Linked DNA regions of Homo sapiens: region 2 is linked to region 1. Evidence: promoter capture Hi-C in 16 types of primary human blood cells and fetal thymus (Javierre and others, 2016). All regions are on one chromosome and are shown on one strand. Each heading gives the region's core, a stretch centred on a gene start or on the middle of the fragment in contact. The rest is flanking DNA. Distances are from core to core; before and after follow the strand shown. Region 1 holds the start of WEE2 (WEE2 oocyte meiosis inhibiting kinase). Region 2 overlaps MGAM2 (maltase-glucoamylase 2 (putative)).

Region 1 (5,850 bases), core at 981-3,480:
ATCATGCTCAACCATTCCTCTAGTACACGTTTTGAACTTTATTGTTTCATTTGTTTAATCTTTATTCATTTTGTGGGCTCTTTTTGAAGGCAGTGAATGGGTTTTGCCAGCAGAGGGTCTGCTAACACATCAAGGTGTTCAGTTAAGCTGTGAATGATCAAATGAATGTCATGTTTTCTTCTCTGTGTACTCTTACTCAAAGCCACATTCTCTCAGCCCATTCTCCCCCATATATCAAAACTGGACCAACTTTCATTGCCCTTCCTATACCTTTCTTTCTTTCCTGATCACCACACTGAGAATCTGTCCAGCGGGTTCTGACCACACTTATCACATAGTGCCTTTTGGCATAACTACTCTCTCTCTGCTAGACTGTAAGCTCTTTGAGGGCAGAGACTGTATTATATGCTCCTTACCTATAGGGAATTCTCAAAGAATAAATGGGTGATTAATTGGCTGGTGCTGTGACCACTGAAAAACCCAGAGATAGACATCGGAGCATATTAGTTTTTCTACAATTCAAACAAGCAGCTTAGAATTTCCTGGTATACATGGTACCCACACCCAGCAGGTACTAAAGAGACCTGCTGATAGCAACTGTGTCGCAGTCAGGATCACAGATGTTATTATGATGATCTTAAGTGCCTCAGGCTGAACCAGCAGGAAGCCGAGCTAATACCAATCCTAGGACTCACACACCATGGCACCAGAGTTGATTAGAGGCAACCCTGCCCCAACTATGGCTTTAATAACATGAACGATGCAACAGGACACCAATCACAACAAGAATAAAGGAATATGCTACTAGGGACTCTTGCTTATTTGCCATCCTCAGCTTATGAAGAAGTATCAACAAGTTTCCTCTTTGCTGACATATACTAGAAGAACCTGGAGGTTCTTCTATTAGACCAAGGAGGGGAGAGGAGTTGTTTCTGGGAGGAGCAGCAGCAAAGAGATATGACTATGTTCAAACAGTGAGTGTGGACGTTCTTATATTAGAAAGTATTAGTAAATAATCACACAAAAATAGAGCCAGTTGGCGTAATGGAAAGAACAATAGACTAGGCCAAAAAGATCAGGTTTCTAGTCCTGTCTGTAACATTGGCTGAGCTGTGAGACAGTTTCTGTCTTGGGCCCTTCATTTTCTCATATGTAAACTGCACAGCTGGAGCTCTAAATCTCAATATTCCTTCCAGTTCCAATATTCTTTAACTAGGGACTTTTTTCTACCCAAGATTTGTTTGTGGCCAATAGCCAACAGTTACTGGCACCAGTGGTTTTGAGAAGACAACTGGCAAACCATTTAATTCTGTCCATTTTCTGGTAATTTTAATTTCTTCATTTTCATCAATAAATGTGTAATTGAGGATATACACAGCCTGGAGGTGACTGTCATACACACATGAATCCACTCTATCAGCTAAACTACAGGAAAGCAGAGCTTGGCGACCTGCGTCCCTTTTTCCCCCACCCCTTACTTACTTTGGGAGTAGAGGGGCTGTCACTGGGCAGCAGCTTGCTCCTGCTGTCTGGTTGGGCTGGTGTCTCAGGACATTTGAGAGGGTGTGACACTGGAGTCCTCAAAATCTGATCTGGACTTTCTTTGTCTTTTTCCGAAGATGTGTCGAGCTCATGCACGTTGCTAAGGGGAGTCCAAGGTGGTGTACCCTTTGCCTCTGAATCCTGCACTTCACCCTTCTCTGGGGTTTGGCTCGAAGCCTCCCTGCTTTCTTCTACTTTCTTCTGCCCTTCAATCTCAGTCTCCTCACAATAGGAAAAGTTTAATTTCTGCCTTAGTTCTTTGTCAATATCTTTGTCATCCATCTCAGCCAAAGAGCTTTACAACACAGACAAAAAGCTCTATCAGAAGGGAACGCTGTGAACCTACAGAAGCAGGGAGGAGAAAATAACTTAACCTGCAGGTTTCGCGACGGTAGCCTGAATTTCCCTCTACCAACTAACAGCTACAAAACACGGTGTTAATTTTCTGCCTTAAGTACCACCAATCTATAAGACCTCAGCTTATCCTGATTTCCATTCTGATTAAAGAAAGCTCCAGTGACTCTCGGAGCAATTAAATGCAGTTCATGTACAGAACTCTTCTGGATATGACACATAGTCTCCCATGTGTTACCAAATACTAGTGAGAAAATTGAATTCCTTTAATTTAGCATGGCTTTAAAAATACCCATTAGCCAATTTGGGAATAAGCTAATATTGAAAAGAAATTATTTTCACTCCTTACACCTGCCATTTATAAATATCACCCTCTCCTCCCTTCTCCTCCCCACCCACCCAATAGCTAACAGCAGGTAATTACAATTTAGCATCACCTGGCTATCATAATGATCCTTAAACAGCCTCTAACATATCTTGACTGGAGTTTGTATCCCTGACAGAGACACAGCTTAGCTCTGTGCCAAACACACCTGCCCTAATTCAGGCATCTCCCTCCTGCAGCTGTTAGCTGTTAGCAGTTAAAGCTTCTAGGGAATTGAACAAAAATTTAAACTGACAAAAGAAAGGCTAGAAAGATCAACAAACCATAGAAACAGATATTGATCACTGGAAAACAGCAATGGCTTCTGCCAAAAATGCCTTATATTGTAAAATGCTTTTTAATATCTTTAGTACACATTATTTAATTTCTTTCTCAGAGAAGCCCCTATGAGAAGGATGGAAAACTCTTTGAAGAAAAAAACAACTATTATACAATCAAGCTGTCCCTCTTCTCTTCCAGTTATATAGCCAAAGGAAATAAAATCACTATCTCAAAAAAATACCAACACACCCATATTCATTGCAGCATTATCCTCAACAGCCAAGATATGGAAACCACCTAAATAGCCATGGACAGATGAATAAAGAAAATGTGGTGAATACACACACACACACACACACACACACACACACACACACAATAGAATATTACTCAGTCATAAAAAAGGAAAGGCTGCCATTTGTGATAACATGGATGAACCAGGGGGATATTAAGTGAAATAAGCCAGGCACAGAAAGACAGATACTACATGATCTTACTTATATGTGGAATCAAAAACAGTTGATCTCCTAGAGGGAGGGAGTAGAATGGTGGTTACCAGGATCTGGAAAGGCAGGGGAAATGGGGAGATGCTGATCAAAGGGTACACACTTTCAGGTATAAGATGAACAATTCTGGGGACCTGATGTACAGCATGGGTGCATATGGGTGTGGTAAATTTTTGGTAATCATTACACAATGTATAGGTATATCAAAGGAAAAAGGCCTCACTGATATCACATTATAGAAGAAAACTATGTGAGAGGCAGTCCATGAAAAAGGAAAATGATACACTCATGCCCCTCAAGGAGGCTTCAGAGGGACTGCAAATAGGGAATTATTTACATGATAAACATGGGCCCAAAGAGAGACAGGAACCAAGGCCAGCTTGATGAGTTTGAAACAAATGTTATTTCCCTTCTCTTTATAGTCTTTGCTACCTGTCACCCCTCTTCCATTTCCCTCTTTTCACAGATCTCTCCACCACTTTCTCCTAATTCCTTCCCCATTCCCAGCCAGAACTCCTGAGGAGGGTAATCCAAATGAAAACTAACTGGGGAGACTTCAAAGTGTTTTTTCAGCTCAAAGCCTTCTCATGCTCCAGCCCTTTGTAGGTGGGCACACCAATTCATCCTTCCTTGGCCCTTCCCTACAGCCTCCCACCCACACAAACTATCCCAGATAATTCAACAGGGGGTAAAATATTGCTCACAAAATGCAGTAACTCACTGCCCACCTTTGTCAGAGATTCAGTATCCTACAGGGGCCAGTAAAAACAGAATCATCAAAGAAAAAGGAGAACTCATAGGTTACCAGTAATGCAATTATTATCAACTGGGATTCTCAGCCTAGGAGTGTCTTGTTTACAAATCAGCAAGCCAGATGATAGATTTCTTTTCTATAGCCTTGGTGTTGATGAATTTCCCCTCACATGCCATGGCTTGTCATTCCTGCCTCTCCAGGCAGCTAGAGGCTGGCTTTGCTCTCAGTAAAACAGGACTGACTCAAAACACTGGCTATATTATTGTCCTGTAGACAGGGCACAGGGGCTGGTTTATTAGGTATTACCCAAGTAGACCAGGTTTTCTTTTTTTTTTTCTATCACCTGCTGCTTTTTCTCTCTCCCTTGCTATAATTCTTGATTACCCTTATTTATGACTACATTGTTTGCCTAGGGAGGCAGCTATGCCATTGCAATGGTTGAGGTCTTATGTTATCGGCAGTAATACTGTTAGAAACTTGCACCATTCACCTTTTCATGTATTGTTACTCAGAAGATAATGATTGTGGCTAAGTCTTCAGAATAAGAAAGGTGTAACAATGAGTACAAAAAAGATATCCCAAATTTGGACAACTAAATAATAAGAATTGCATAGTTGCTGATCTGGATGACCCAAGGGAATCCCTAGAGGTGCTACCTATGGCCTCTGGCCCATGGCCTCACTATTTTTTTGGTCACATTGTAGCCTTTTCTTCATTTTTAGCCTCTTTCCATTATGAAAAATTTCATCTCTGCTTCAGTATATGTTAATCCCACAGGCATCCATCCCAGCATAAAGCTTCAGGTGATAGTTGAGATGATGTGTCAAAAGGGGGACCCATGTAATCTGTGGCAATAAGAGGAAAAGGGGAGGGTTTCCCCCTTAATGCCTAACATATAGTAGGTGTTCAATAAATTGTTTTTGGATGAATTTGGGGAAATAAATTAATATATTTCAATCATGTTTAAAATACTCCATATTTGACTTTTTAAAAAAAATTTGAATTTTTTTCTTAATGTGTCAGGAGTTGCTGCACAGGGGGAAAGCGAAGTTCCCAGGAGTAAGATGTGCAAGAAGCGGGCAGCCTTGCATCTCAGGGCTGAGTTCCCTCAACTGTGTGCTTGAGGGAAGTTCTCCCCTTGCAGACACACTGCTGAGTGATAAGGAAGCACCTAGACTCCACTCTGACCAGACTTGGTTCTGAGGCCTATGAAATGTTGATGGGAAGAACAGAAGCAGGAAAATCTATCTATTCAAATTTGCAAGACGTGGAAACTTTTATTCACCTTCCTGGTTAGACTGTTCCTTTGTCAAAGTAAAGCTAAGGCCATGGAAAATGAGCTATTTGAGAGTTTGTCGCTCCAAGGAAGAACATGCTGGCCTAATTGTCCCCCAAGTCAGGAGAGAGAATTGTAAAAAACACTTAAACAGGCCTAAGTAAAGGTCCAGCACATTATTTATTTAAGACTGAATTAGAACTGAGTCATTCCGACTCTGAAAAAAGAGTGTTGTTGGATTCTTATGTATTTAATGGGTCTGCCCTATTGAAAACCATTGTGAAGTATGGTTTCCCAAGCAAGAAATGACACTTTCACTGTCAGTCTTTCTAGGAGTCTGGCAGAATCCAGGACCGGGATTACCCTTATTTATGAAGCGACCTTAGACTAACAGTGGCTCTCTGGGTCTCCAGACAATTGGCCAGGGACTCTAAAAACCAGAAACAAAGTTGAGAGAACTCCATGCTGGTGGAGAAAAACAGCTGGCCTTTATCACCAGAATGTGCCCCATAGAAGCAGCAAAGCAGCAAGCGACGTTCTTAAACAAGGGCCTGTGGGCCTCGTCAAGATCTGGAGGAATCATCTACGACTCACTGCTGAGTGAGAGGGCTAGGCAGTGTCTTTAAGGTCCTGCCAGCTTTAACATTGTATGCTTTTTCTTTTGTTCAATCTCTCACCACAACTGGAAGTGTTGCCTCAACTACACAGGAGAAAGTTTGCAGTAACTTAGAGAAAACATTATTTTAATCACCAGTGTATGTTCTCCTGCTCC
Region 2 (5,850 bases), core at 1,749-4,248, 490 kb before region 1:
AACAAGCCTTGCCAAGGCTAAAAAGGTCAAAATTATTGCCTTAGGAAATATGTGCTTGGAAATAGAAGGCTCTATCCACCTCTCCACCCTGCATAGACCAAACTGGTTCTTCACAAATATATTAGTTCTTACCGTGCTATAGTCATACCAACGGGCTCTCGGAAAATAAGCAGAGATCTCAAATGTGCTCTGAAACATAAAATTGACATGTCATTATGAATATTTCAAAAAATATTTTTCATTTTCATTTTCAAAACACTGTAGAATTAAGATAAAAAATGAAAATTGTATTAGTGATTGCAATAATTTGAGGGATTTTATTAAGAAAAATCCTGAAAAATTATTCCTCAGAACTACAGAAAAAACTATTTTTAAAAAGTAAATGACAAAATTTTAAAATGAGAAATCAGTCAGTGTAGTAAAGCTTTCATTAACAGAGAGATCTTTTAAATAAAAGAAAAAGATCTCCTGTAGATGTTCTAGAAAGGCATTCGCCTGAAAATAGTGAGCTGGACAAAATAAGATGATCTTTAAAATGCTTTTCCCATGATTTTAGATCATGTGATTGAAGGTTTTCTGACCTACAATGAAGAACTCACAGTTTCCAACACAGGGCTGATTAAGATAGCAGGGCCCAACATGAACTGACGGTCTATATCCCATGTTGTCCTGTCATCCGTAAACCTTAAAAAAATAAACAGGAAAAATTCACCTATCCTCTTATGACTGCTACAGAGGATTATTTGCAAGACATGCTTGGGGAAAGAGGCTGTACTCACTCATGGAGAAGGGGCCGGACAACTGTGCTGCCCTCAACGTGAGCTTTATGCATCAGAGTATAGAGATAAGGAAGCAGGGTATATCTGGTCTCTAGGACTTTTCTGGACAACATCTCAAAGGTTGAATTCCAGGCCACAGGATCTTGTCTCTGTAAGGATAAAGAAGCATATAATGGATCACCTCTTCTTCATTCCATCCCAGTGGCATCAGAAAAGAATCAATGGGCATTTATTCAAAATGTAGGTTACAAGCCACTTACCCTTTCATTCCTGGCCTACCCTTTCCCCCATCTCTGCCACCCTACAAAATTAGAATTTCTTGCTTTCTCCTCTTTATCACTGATTCCTAAGTCCCTGGAATAGGTCCAGCTCTGGCCCTCTACATGTGTACAGAGAGAGGTTTCCGTGCAGCACCAACATATCTTCGATGAATTTGAGTAAAATACAAATTCAATATTCTTAAAAGCAAAGGGATCTTCTTTCATTTTAGCCCCATGTGGAACTATAAAAACCTTTCCTCATGGGTAGTAATTCTCCAGGAGATGAGAAAAGGTATATTTCTAAAAATTACTGATAATTCCAGAGTTCTGAACTCTGTGGATTTTCCAAGAAATTAAGATTCTGGTGATGTTTTTTGATTTTTCTCAGGAAATGAGTATAATAGTCCTGGGGGTTAAAAAGAAGTTATGATTTGAGGGTACACAACACCTGGAGCACGAACTACTGCCTCACCCTTGTCCCGATGTTGTTGTGGTTTCTGGAAAATGGATAAAATGCCCCCAGTTGCATCCAGCGAACACACATCTCATATTCAGCATCTCCAAAGAACCCACAGATATCTGCTCCTGTCTGAGAAGATGCATAATGAGAGCATGAGGTGGGAATTTCATGAGGCGCTGACTCACTAAAATCTGACTGGGCAATTAGTAATGGTCTGAATGTGACTTACATAAGGTATTCCAAAGAGACTGAACTCCATCATGCCTGCAAAGAGAAGACACAGCTGTGTTGGAGGAAGGAGCACTTTGGGAGGAGAGTGAAGGCTTGGCCTGATTTTTCCTTACCCCATTAGAAAGCCCTGGACCATGATGAAAATATTAAAAGATGGGTGTAAATTAAAATCCACGCCCAGAGAGAACTCAGTTCTTGTTAATTTTACCACCCACCTAGATGATGATAGAGACATAACCAGTGCTGTTGAACAGCACAAACTCCAGTGCCCTCCCTGCCAGCACAGGCCCCTGGGAATGAGCCCACACACCAATGATAGATTTCCCCAGCTGGTCCCATGCAGCTGTGTTGTTTCCCAACCGGTGTCCTCCCCAGCGTCCAGAAGAGGGAAATGTGGAGCGGGTGATGATGACCCCTCGCTGTCCTGTCACCTCCTGCACAGCTCTGGTGGGAGGGGAATAAAGAGGTGAGTTGAAGAAACAAACTCCTTTACAGAGAATAACTGCAGCTTGGAGCATGAGAGGGTGAGGGTACTTCGGTCCGAGTCAGATAACTTCTTCCCTGAAAGAATCTGCTGTCTCAAAGCCATGCTAAAGATCCCAACAAACTTCACAGCAAGACTAGAGGTATATCTGCACGTAGAATGTGGGTTTCATTTTTGAAAAATCTGGTTAATTAACTATCACCCTGGAGTAAGAGAAAGGGGTGGGAGTGAGGCGTAATATAGCTATTTATGGAACAATTCCTCTATTCCAGTATTATACCGGTCACTTTCCTATGTGGTGTCTCATAACATCATGAAAAGGTTTCCTTGCACTCCTTTTACTGTTAGGAAGCTAAGATTCAGAGAAGTTAGAAAGGCATTCGCCTGAAAATAGTGAGCTGGACAAAATAAGATGATCTTTAAAATGCTTACCAAAGGTCATTTAAAGGGTAAAGAGGTCTGGGTGTGGTGGCTCACACCTGTAATCCCAGCATTTTGGGAGGTCAAGGTGGGTGGATCACTTGAGGTCAGGAATTCAAGACCAGCCTGGCCAACATGGTGAAACCCTGTCTCTACTAAAAAAAAAAAAAATTAGCCGGGTGTGGTGTGCATACCTCTAATCCCAGCTACCCAGGAGGCTGAGGTAGGAGAATCACTTGAACCTGAGGAGATGGAGGTTGCAGTGAGCTGAGATCGTGCCACTGCCCTTCAGCCTAGGTGATAGAGCAAGACTCTGTCTCAAAAAAAAAAAAAAAAAAAAAAAAAAAAGAGTAAAAAGGAGGCCAGGCACAGAAACTCACACATGTAATCCCAGCACCTTGGGAGGCCAAGGCAGAAGGACTGCTTGAGGCCAGAAGTTCAAGACCAGCCTAGGCAACACATTGAGACCCTGTCTCTACAAAAAAATAAAATTAGCTGGGCAGGGTGGTGCACGTGTGTCTGTAGTCACATGGCAGACAGGGGAAGAGGGAAAAAAAGAATAAGGAGGCAGATCTGGGATCCAAATAAAAGCTACAGCATTTTGGAAATATTCACTCTGCTTTTCTGTACCTCAAAAAGCGAGACATGTTTTGCACACAGAGGCAAATATACATAAAAGATGTTTATCTTTCAGTGGAAGATGGATCATCTGCACGCACCCTTAGAAAATAACAACAACTGTGTGAGGGAAAAATCAACTGAACAAAAGAGAAAGTCTACTAATAGATCCTAGTATGTATACAATCCAAGTATTTGCTTAAAAAAGCATCACAGATCAATAGACACAGATGAATTAGTCAATAAATGATGTCAGGAAAAGTAGCTGACTACTGTTGTGTAAACTAATCCATTTGGGTTATTTCCAATTTTTCACACCAAAACAAATCCAAAAATGAATGGAAATACACACACACACACACACACACACACACACACATACACACATGTTCTATTAAAACTGAAAGAATATATAAACCACCTGATTTCTACAAGAGAAAGGAATTTCAAATAAAAACAATGGACAAAACATAATGAAGTAAAAGGTATAGATTTAACCATACACAAATTGGAAGAATGCATATGTATGTATGTGTGATAAAGAAATGGGGGTGAGGATAGCTTAGATTTTTATAACAGTCTAGATGAGAGATAATGAAGGCCTGGAATAAGGCAGGAAGATAGAGTAGTGACTGATGCAAAGAACTGAGTCACCAACTGAAAGCAGGAAAAGAAAGAGAATCTAGGATGACCTAATGACTAGTTAAACTTGGTTCCTTTCACTAAAATAAAGAATGCTGGAGGGGCCGGGCGCAGTGGCTCACGCCTGTATTCCCAACTCTTTGGGAGGCCCAGGCAGATGGATCACCTGAAGTCAGCAGTTCGAGACTAGCCTGGCCAACATGGCAAAACCCTGTCTTTAATAAAAATGCAAAATTAGCTGGGCATGGTGGCATGCAACTCTAATTGCAGCTACTAGGGAGGCTGAGGCAGGAGAATTGCTTGAACCCAGGAGATGGAGGTTGCAGTGAGTCGAAATCGTGCCACTGCACTCCAGCCTGGGTGACAGAGCGAGACTCCATCTTAAAAAAAAAAAAAAGAAGAAGAAAGAAAAGACTGCAGGAGGACAGGTTTAAGGGAGAGATAAATAGTTCAACATTTTAAGTATTAGATTTGAAGTGCCTATGGGACATCATAAATGAGACAGCTATGGGCAATTCTAGGTTTGAGGCTCAAGAGAGGTTTGGGTTGGGAACAAAGATTTGGGGGCCATCTGAATCCAGAGTGTATTTAAAGCCAGTAGTATGTGTTTGTGCTTATCCAAGGGAAAAGCTACATGGTGTGAAGAAAAAAAAAGATGACTGAACCCAGGTGTGGAAGGAGCATAGGCTTGGAAAGACTGGGAAGGGAAACCTGCAAAGGAGTTTGTGGAACTGTGGCCAGAGAGGTAAATGCATAAATATCTGGAATCTAGGTTGGAAAGCACAGTCAAGATCCTGAGAAACTAGCAAAAGCACACAGAGCATATGCAGCAGGGCATATTATGAACCTCAATATTGTGAACCTCAAGGTCAGCAGAGGATGTAGCATGAAGGTCAGCAGGGAAGAGTCAGTGAACAAAACTGACCACTGATGCCACAAACGCTGAGCTCTCCCATCAATGCAGGCACTCAGGGCTGACAAACAAAGGCATTTTCATAAAAAGAAATAAAAATGGTTCAGTGCTTGGACAGAAAAGAGCAAAGAAGACATGGTCTTCTCCCCAGGTGTGTAGAGGAAATAACTTAAAATGTAGAACATACTGTCAGGTTAGTAGTTAAGAGAAGGAGGGAATTAGGAGGGATGGAGTAATCTGAGCAGGTTTCATGAAGGAAATAGATGTAAGTTGGTCTTTAGATTGTATGTGCTAAGAGATTAGCCTGATCAAGGTCAGAATGACCAGCATTTGTGATTGGTAAAGGGAGAAACATCAAGGTGTATGGGAATTAAAAAATATATATATCATGTATGGAAAGAGTTCCTTCAAACAGCTTGAATATGAGAGGGAGTTGAAAGATTAGATGATGGTTGGAGGAGGATATAGGCAAAAGCAAGAACAACTGGGGCATTTTCAAATATTGATGAAAAGGAATTAAAAAATATTGCTAATGTTTGTTGAGTGCTTACAATATGCCAAGTACTTGTGGATTCATTATATCATTTAATTTTTATATTAACAATAGATGCCATGATTTTTCCAATTTGAAAGATGAGAAAGTTTAGTTAGAAGATTTCACAGCCTAAATCCTAAAGCAATATACCAGCAGTGAGGAAGAAGATAAAAAATAATTCATGAAGAAACGAGCACCCATGGAAAAGTATAATTTGTGGAGCAAGCTTCTCTGAAGAGAAAGATGGCGATGGGATGCAGATGTGTGAAAAGCAAATTTCCCTGAAGAGAGAGGAGGGGATGGTGCATGGGAAAGTTGAGCTTTTGGTAGAAACTTTATCAAGTTTTCACATCTTCTTATTGCTGCTTTCTTTGCCCTGAAAGCCCCTTCTTTGCCAAAAGAAAATTTCTACTCTTCTTTTAACCAACATTCAAACATCACTTCTTCTATGAAGACTTTCTGGATTATCCCAGTAGAGTTAATTGATTTTCCCTCTCATGTTTGACTC

The links. Contacts are between HindIII fragments. The CHiCAGO score rates a contact against its expected background, and 5 or more counts as called.
Region 2: a fragment that was not itself captured here is called in contact with the fragment with the promoter of WEE2 in region 1 in 2 of 17 cell types (M1 macrophages and M0 macrophages); the score reaches 7.6 in M1 macrophages.

What each region holds. Positions count from the first base shown.
Region 1 is chr7:141,704,733-141,710,582 of GRCh38, reverse strand. It overlaps WEE2 (WEE2 oocyte meiosis inhibiting kinase), which reads right to left and starts at 2,230. Exons shown (of 12, transcript NM_001105558.1): 1 at 1,483-2,230. The coding sequence starts at 1,824. It overlaps WEE2-AS1 (WEE2 antisense RNA 1), which reads left to right. Exons shown (of 4, transcript NR_199841.1): 4 at 4,826-5,850. The HindIII fragment of the contact is 6,148 bases long and covers 1-2,485 here.
Region 2 is chr7:142,192,478-142,198,327 of GRCh38, reverse strand. MGAM2 (maltase-glucoamylase 2 (putative)) reads right to left here. Exons shown (of 48, transcript NM_001293626.2): 38 at 2,041-2,174; 39 at 1,729-1,763; 40 at 1,512-1,628; 41 at 780-928; 42 at 600-684; 43 at 133-189. Among named protein-coding and RNA genes, the nearest start is that of PRSS58, 63 kb to the left of the region's middle. RefSeq lists an enhancer at 1,038-2,237. The HindIII fragment of the contact is 5,144 bases long and covers 427-5,570 here.